2 separate regions of the Homo sapiens genome follow, and region 2 is linked to region 1. The links are contacts of gene promoters, found by promoter capture Hi-C in human tissues and cell types (Jung and others, 2019). All regions are on one chromosome and are shown on one strand. Each heading gives the region's core, a stretch centred on a gene start or on the middle of the fragment in contact. The rest is flanking DNA. Distances are from core to core; before and after follow the strand shown.

Region 1 (4,164 bases), core at 601-3,100:
AGTCCGGCCTGGGCGACAGAGCGAGACTCCGTCTCAAAAAAAAAAAAAAAAAAAAAAAAAAGATGACCTGTTTGACTTAATGTGGCCTATTTGCTTGTGCTGTATAAAAACGCCAACAGTCTCTTTAGTGATTTGGAAACTTGAACACTCATAAGATTTTCATATTTGAACATATACTCTAAGACGATAACTTTCAAAAGAACTTAAAAGTTATTTCTCAACTTAAAAAGTTATTTTGTTACACAAATATGTTAGTTTATTGAAGAATGTCAAGCTGGTTTTCTTTACACAGTTGTCCTCCTAAGGATAATTAAAATGCTATCATGGCGTTCCAGTTTGTACTCCTACTACAATACCTGGCATTTAGGTGCAAGTAAAACTTACAGCGCATATGTAAATTGTGAATACTCTGAAGGTGTTTTTATTTTATAGTGTTTGATAGCACATTTTAAAATCTTGGAAACTCTATTTCTTGGAATACATTTTAATACCTCCCAGTCCTAGTGTTCCTGGAAACATAATTGGAAAATAAAATGCCACAAATTCAATGCAACCATGGCTAGTGCTCAAGGAAAGATCTTTGCTCAAGAGAATAATTTAGCAAATAATGGTTTCGAAGAAATAGGACATTACTAAGTACACTGGATAAATGGTTGTGATTTCTGTATCTCAAAATATTGAGCTGATTATGCCATTAATTTGCTCAAAATCTTCTCTGGTTCTCCATTACCTTTAGAATGAATTCCACACTTTTTACCTTAATATTCAAAGCTCTTTATTATTTGGCCCCAGTTTATTATACTTTTTTAAAATCTATTTTATTCCCTAAAGAAAAAAAGAAATTCCTGCCTTCACAGATATCCTATATTCCAGTGAGAAAAACAGTCAACAAAATTAGTAAAATGCAAGTCTATCATATGGTGATAAATGGCTTGATAAATGCTAAGTAGAGAATAAAGATATATCTGTGGGAGGGTGCTAGCTATAAATAATACTGTTCAGGGAGGGCCTCCTTGAGTGACATTTGAACACACTCTGATGGCAATGAGGGAATGAGTCATAGATATGGGTGTTAAATTGTAAAAACTGCAGGTGAAAGCCCAGCATGGATGAAGGCCCTAAGTGGACCTGGTCTGGATTGTTTTGAGGTCTATTTCATAGGATTTCTCTTTCCTTTTTCTCTAACCGCATCAATCTGAGACTTTTTTTGTGTAAATGTTTCTCTTCCTTACTAAGCTGGGAGTTCATTGAAGGTCTGTTCTTGGTCTTATTTATGTTTTTCATTTTTATTTTTATGTTATTTTCAGCAGTGCCTACTGTCATGTTCTGTTTTTTAGGAAAGTTCTCAATAAATTCTAATATTATAGAATTGAACGCATGTTTCTCAATTTAGCCTTCCTATGCCTATCCTCTCCTGAGTAGTACAGTTGTGGATTGGATGGTAATACTGGTGGCACCTGAAAAGGTAGGAATCACTAAGCCCCTTCCTTTCTCTAGGAGGCTGGGGATGGGGATTCTCAATGTTTTGGGTTAGAGCTGAGGGAAGTACTTCCCTGCAAGATTTAGCATCATGATATTTGTGGAGTGTACATTTGGGGCTCACTGAGAACATGTATACAGAGTGTACAAATTACTTTTTACAGTCTATGATTAACTTGCAGGAATTAAATGAAGGTCTAAAATGAGAGGCTTTCTTAGGACACAGAATAAAACAACAACAAGCTTGTTAAATATAAATTCTTGTGGGAATGAGAAGGCAAAGTAGGGATGGCACACACTTTGCAGACCTCTTATTATATAGAAAGATCCCAAGGGTTCCAAACTCCAGAAATGCTGTTACCTGGCTGAATTCTCATCTCCTGACACTATGTATTTCAATTACAAAAGTGTGTGTGGGAGCTGTGGATTTGGCTCTTGCTATGGTTGTGGGTATGGCTGTATACACAGCACCCACTGTGGCTGTAACGGTTATTATGGTTGTTATGAAAATAAATATTCTGTTATAGATGATCTGATATTTTTTGCTTCTAAGAAATGCCATTGAGCATTGTTTCTTATTTAGTTTCTCAAAGATCTGTTCTGCTTTAATCACCTTCAATCCTGATAGTTCTCCGTTAGAGAAAAATGACTCATCTGGTGAAAACTCCATTTGTCTTCAAAGTACCTGTTAGTCATAGACATAATGTGGTTTCACTGAGAGATGGAAAATATGACTATTTTGAAATTTTGAAAAATATAAAATGCTCTTTGTGTGCGTGTGTGAGTCAACACCAATTTGGGGCATGTTTTACCCCCTTGAAAGCCAGACCACTATGTAGATTAGTTGATCCTTAGCTTCTTAGAAATTTCTTCTTAACTTTCAATAACTCTTTTTCTCTTTATCTTTTCTACTCTACATAAAACTTGAGTTATTTAATTGTCAGTATCCACCACATATTTAATATTAAATAAATATGTACCTGTTAATTAGATATACTTCTAAATATACAAAATGAAGAAAGGAAGTGGAATGATATCATCCTTAGTGTAGAATAGTAGATTATTATCAGCCAAAGAAAAGGGAGGAGGAGAGAGAATCACTGAAACATTTTTTTTTTTTTTCGAGATGGAGTCTCGCTCTGTCACCCAGGCTGGAGTGCAGTGGCGCGATCTTGGCTCACTGCAACCTCCGCCTCCCAGGTTCAAGTGATTCTCCTGCTTCAGCCTCCCAAGTAGCTGGGATTGAGGCACCCGCCACCGCGCCTGGCTAATTTTTGTATTTTTAGTAGAGACGGGGTTTCACCATGTTGGCCAGGCTGGTCTCGAACTCCTGACCTTATAATCCACCCGCCTTGGCTACACACACACACACACACACACACACACGAACACAATGATTCTAATTCTAATTCCGTCGGCCTTTTCTCAAACATTCTCATAGACAGTTCTGTCACTTTTTTTGGGATTCTGGTTAATATGAACTCCTTAGGAGACTTTGCCTAACATTCCACTTGAAATAGAAATGACATTCTTACACTATTTCCCTGTTCATCACCTTGCATCTACTTCTCCTCTTCCTCCTCTTCTCCCTTCTCCTCCTCCTTCTACTTCTCCTCATATCTTTCTCTCTCTCAAAATCAAAGTCAAAAATCAGTTGTTTTTTTCTTCAGTTATATTTGTTACATAATTATAAAATTATTTAAGAAAGCCCGGTGACAGAGTGAGACTCATCTAAAAAAAAAAAAAATTCCTGACTCCATTCCTGTGGTGGCGAAGGAATTGCTCTATGAGACTGCTATGTATGATAAAGTGAGTCTAGGACTATTTATATGGGGATATCAAACAATTCTCCTCTATGGCAAAGTGTAGTCACAACATTTCTCTTTCTTAAAAAGCACAGGCTTTGGGGCAACAGAGAGTGACATTAGATGCCAATGTTCCCATTCCTAGCTGTGCATGTGTCAGAAAACTTCTTAATCTTCATATTTCATAAGTCTCCTCTTCCATTCAAACAAAAAGGTTATAAACACTGATGTCAGAGGACTGTTGCCATAGTTAATGAGATAGTATACTTAGCATGTAGCATGATACGTAATAATAGGATTTTGTTTTTGTTGGCAAATGACTCCTTATGTATGTTGTTTTGCAGCAAACAATGTAATGCTTCATCTATGCTAACTTTTGAGAGGTAGCAGCCTCCAAATTAAGTCATCTGATTTTATTATTCTTTCCTTTTTTTTTTTTTTTTTTGGTCTCATGCTTTTGTTGGAATTCATGGAGTACATAAAAATTACTAGAGCAACCGAACTCTAAGGATTTCCCTGTTTTTATTTAGCTCTTACTTTTTTTTTTTTTTTTTTTCTCTTTCTGAGACAGAGTCTTGCTCTGTCACCCAGGCTGGAGTGCAGTGGTGTGATCTCCGCTCACTGCAACCTCTGCCTCTCGGGTTCAAGCAATTCTCCTGCCTCAGCCTCCTGAGTAGCTGGGATTACAGGCACCTGCCACCATGCCAGGCTAATTTTTGTATTTTTGTTAGAGACAGTTTCCCCATGTTTGGCCAGGGTGGTCTCGAACTCCTGACTTTTAGTGATCTGCCTGCCTCTGCCTCCCAAAGTGCTGGAATTACAGGTGTGAGCCACCACACCTGGCCTGTTTTTACTTAGTTCTAAATATACAGATACTTAG
Region 2 (4,107 bases), core at 734-3,233, 34 kb after region 1:
TTTAAAACTAAAAAGATAATTCTAAGAGTTGTTGAGAAGGTAAAGCAATGAAAACGTCTATGTCATGTAGGTGGGAGTGTAAATTGATACTACTGCTTTGGATCACAATTTAGCATTGTTTCCTGAAACTAGATCTGAACATACTTTATGAAAACCTTCAATTCTCCCCCTGGGTAAACACTCCGGTGCTTAGAGACATGTGGAAGACCCTTTAGAGCAGTATTATTTGAAACTGCAAAATAACACATCTCTTGTGGGCATACATAGAGGTATTTGGATGAGGTCAGATCACACAGGCTAATTCAATGGTATGGTTAAAATTCTAGCTCATACAGTGAGTGGTGTGTTCATTATTATGCTTCAGAACTCATGTATAAATTACATATATTCCTTTGTAAGCATACACACTACTTAATTAAAAATAACAACAAAACTTTGTCTGTGAATATGGATCAATAGAAAAGAATCTGGAGACCGTGAATATTTGTTTGATGTTCCAGAATTTTCTTTTAATGAAAACATCCTAGTTCTATTTAAAGGTGCAGTCAATATTCCTTCAGATGAGAACCTTGATTAGCCTCCTAAAGGTTTACAATGAGGTGCCAGTCCTACTATCCCCCCTGGTTTATGTAACTTAGCAAAAGGGAGACCCCAGAAATTCATGCCTCGTGTTATAACTGAATTGTATCTTCCTCCCCTAAACCTCCAATTCAGATGATGAAACCCTCATCCCTAATATGACTGTATTTGGAGGTAGGGCCTTTAAAGAGGTAAGTAATGTTAAATGGGGTTATAATCCACAAGTGGGGCCCTAGTCCAGAAGTATTGGTGGCCTTATAAGAAGAGGAAGAGACAGTAACAGTGAAAAGGCCACATGAAGACACAGCAAGAAAGTAGTCATCTCTAAGCCAGGGAGAGAGGCCTCGCCGGAAACCTAGCTTGCTGGCACCTTGATCTTGGACTTAGAGCCTCCAGAAATGTAAGGAAATAAATTTCTGTTGTTTAAGCCACCTAGTCTGTGGTATTCTGTTACGGGAACTTGAGCTTGCTAATACAACACCTCTATGGTAGATGTCAGGAAATTTGAAGAAAAATTCAGAGATGCCTGTAATGGTTATGTAGTTTCTTGTGACCAGCATCCCCATGGTGAAATATTACTCCTAGTACTGTCTTTGCATTTGACATCTTATCTGGTCCAGATTATTTTACACATTTTCCTCCAGAATCATCATATTTTTAAAGCTGCTTGAAAGCTTTTATGGAAAAAGCAGGATTAAACAATCCATAAAGTTTATCATCTTATGTGTTAAGCCAGGAAGTTACTACAGTGGAAAATAGCCATTGCTGTGCCAGAGGGAGAATGATACAAAGCCTGTGCAGGGCTACCCATTCTGCCTCTGTTCCTGTCTCTGTGCATTTGTGTCTATGTGAGAAAGTATGGCCGGGAGCGGTGGCTCACGCCTGTAATCCCAGCACTATGGGAGGCCGAGGGAGATGGATCACTTGAGGTCAGGAGTTCGAGACTAGCGTGGCCAACATGGTGAAACCCTGTCTCTACTAAAAATACAAAAATTAGCCAGGGATGGTGGCGCCCGCTTGTAGTTCCTGCTACTCTGGAGGCTGAGGCAGGAGAATCGCTTGAACCTAGGAGGCGGAGGTTGCAGTGAGCAGAGATCGCACCACTGCATTCCAGCCTAGATGACACAGCGAGACTCTGTCAAAGAAACAAAGAAAGAAACAATGAAATTAGGAAAGAAAGAAGGAAAGAAAGAAAGAAAGAGAGAAAGAAAGAAATTGGAGTACTTTTTAAAATTCTGTGGAGTTATTCCAAATTATCCTCATCACACTTTGCCCTGCCAGAGATCGATATAATTTTGCTTCCATTGTTCTATTCACTATGGACTGGCCATCTAGGCCAGGATAAGGAGGTGACCCTTGACAATGCCTCCATAAGGGTGAATCTCTCATCAGTGTTCAAATTCACACAGCTGTGTTTGTAGAGCAAAGCATCTAGTCTGATGATACTCGAGCTTGCAGAAAATAAATCAAACATCTGGAAAATCATGAGAGAAACATATGCACTTTAAGTAGAAAAGAGCCACTTAGCTCTTTTTTTCTGTAGAACTACCTAAAGAGGCAAATTATGAACTCTACAGCAAATGAGATATTATCTTACGCTTAGGCAGAACGGTTTAGTGGAATGATTGCTGATCCATGACTCAGAAGAGTCTCAAACTCATTGCAGTCAGCTTTTTGCCCACAGTTGCCTGCCAAATCCGATCCTGTGTACTTTATCTATAATGCCTTCCGCTAAATAACGAAGATCAGTTCTCTGTTCTCAACTTACTTGACCTATCACGAGCCTTTGCCAGTCCATTATTCATTTCTCTTTGAACATCTTTCTTCCTTTGACCTACAAGTCTCCATCCTTTCTTGCCTTTCCCTGTTTCCTTGGCCAAGCTTTCTCGGTCTCCTTTCTCCTATCTCTATTTTCTCTGACATTTGAATGTTAAGATGCCTCTGTCCCAGTCTTAGACCTCTTGATTTCTCCATTTCTATCTGCTTCACTGTCATCCTAAAAGCTCATTTGGTCTCACAACTTTTAGTAGCGAGAATGCTGCAAGCCAGCTGCCCCTTAAAGGCTGGACTCCGGCTGCTCCTGTCTGCTGCTTGGAAGCTCTTCCTGCAAGTATCAGTGAGGTCTACTCCTTTTTCTCCTTCTTTTTGCTCAATGAAGCTTATCCAAAGAAAGTACTTTAAAAGGTAATTTCTTCCTCTCTCTATCCTCCAACTCCTGGAATCATTGGTCCCTTTACCATCTTCTACATTTCCCCCTAAGTCCCTTATCACCATCTAATTACCATATCTTTTTTTTGAGACAGAGTCTCGCTCTGTTGCCCAGGCTGGAGTGCAATGGCACGATCTGGGCTCACTGCAACCTCCCTTTCCTGGGCTCAAGTGTATATCAATTTTCTCTATCTTTTTCTTTTTTTTTTGAGACGTTGTCTCTCTCTGTCTCCCAGCCTGGAGTGCAGTGGCGCAATCTCGGCTCCCTACAACCTCCGCTGCCCAGACTCAAGAGATTCTCCTGCCTTAGCCTCTCGAGAAGCTGGGACTACAGGCGTGTGCCATCACTCCCAGCTAATTTTTGTATTTTTCAGTAAAGACGGGGTTTCACCATGTTGGCCAGGCTAGTCTCGAACTCCTGACCTCAAGTGATCTGCCTGCCTTGGCCTCCCAAAGTGCTGGGATTACAGGCGTGAACCACTGTTCTTGGCCTGACTACTATATTATTTATTTATCACTTGGTGAATTGCGCGTTTCCATTGCCGTGGCAGGCTGAATAACGCCCCTGAAGACACCAGGTCCTAATGCCCAGAACCTAAGAAATGTTACCTTGTTTGGAAAAATGATCTCTGCAGATGTGATTAAATTAAGGATCTTAGGAAGGAGAGATTATCTTATATTATCTACATAGGCTCTAAATGCAGCTATGAGTGTTCCTGTAAGAGAGAAGCAGATGGAAATTTGATGGACATAAGTGGGAGCAATGCGACCACAGAGGCAGAGACTAGAGTGATGTGGGCACAAGCCAGGGAATAATTGTAGACACCAGAAGCTGGAAGACGCAAGGAACAGATTCTCCCCTAGATCCTCTGGAGGGAATGAGGTGTTGGAGACTCCTTGATTTCCTTGATTTGGGACCAATTATACTGATTTCAGACTTCTGGCTTCCAGAACTGTGAGAAAATAAATTTGTGCTTTTAAGCTTTCAAGATAGTAGTAATTTGTTACAACAGATATAGAAAATGAATGCAATTGCTACAGTATAAACTCCATGAGAGCATGGGTCTTTGTAAGTTTGATTCACTGACATATCTCAAATGCCTGGAGCATAGTAAGCCACCTTGCTTACTTTTTAGGGATGTTTTAAAACTTTATGAATCTTCTGTGTTCTTACTATCCATAAAGTGTTTTTTGACACTTTCTAGTTAACAGTAGACTTTAGCAAAAATGTTCCTGCTTATGCTCAAATGATGTCCTTGATCATTTTCAGGTGCCCATCAATGGTAGACTGGGTAAAGAAAATGTGATATCACACACACA

The links. The method cuts DNA at HindIII sites, captures the fragments that hold promoters and counts their contacts. A contact is called where the count stands out against the background at its distance.
Region 2: a fragment that was not itself captured here is called in contact with the fragment with the promoter of KRTAP21-3 in region 1 in 2 of the 25 tissues and cell types used here (aorta and stomach).

Annotation. Positions count from the first base shown.
Region 1 is chr21:30,716,463-30,720,626 of GRCh38, reverse strand. It overlaps KRTAP21-3 (keratin associated protein 21-3), which reads left to right and starts at 1,850. Exons shown (of 1, transcript NM_001164435.1): 1 at 1,850-2,102. The coding sequence starts at 1,868. The coding sequence ends at 2,044. All of the region lies in intron 2 of LOC105372773 (a long non-coding RNA gene), which reads left to right. The HindIII fragment of the contact is 17,351 bases long and covers 674-4,164 here.
Region 2 is chr21:30,682,859-30,686,965 of GRCh38, reverse strand. No RefSeq gene overlaps it. Among named protein-coding and RNA genes, the nearest start is that of KRTAP21-3, 34 kb to the left of the region's middle. The HindIII fragment of the contact is 4,885 bases long and covers 1-4,107 here.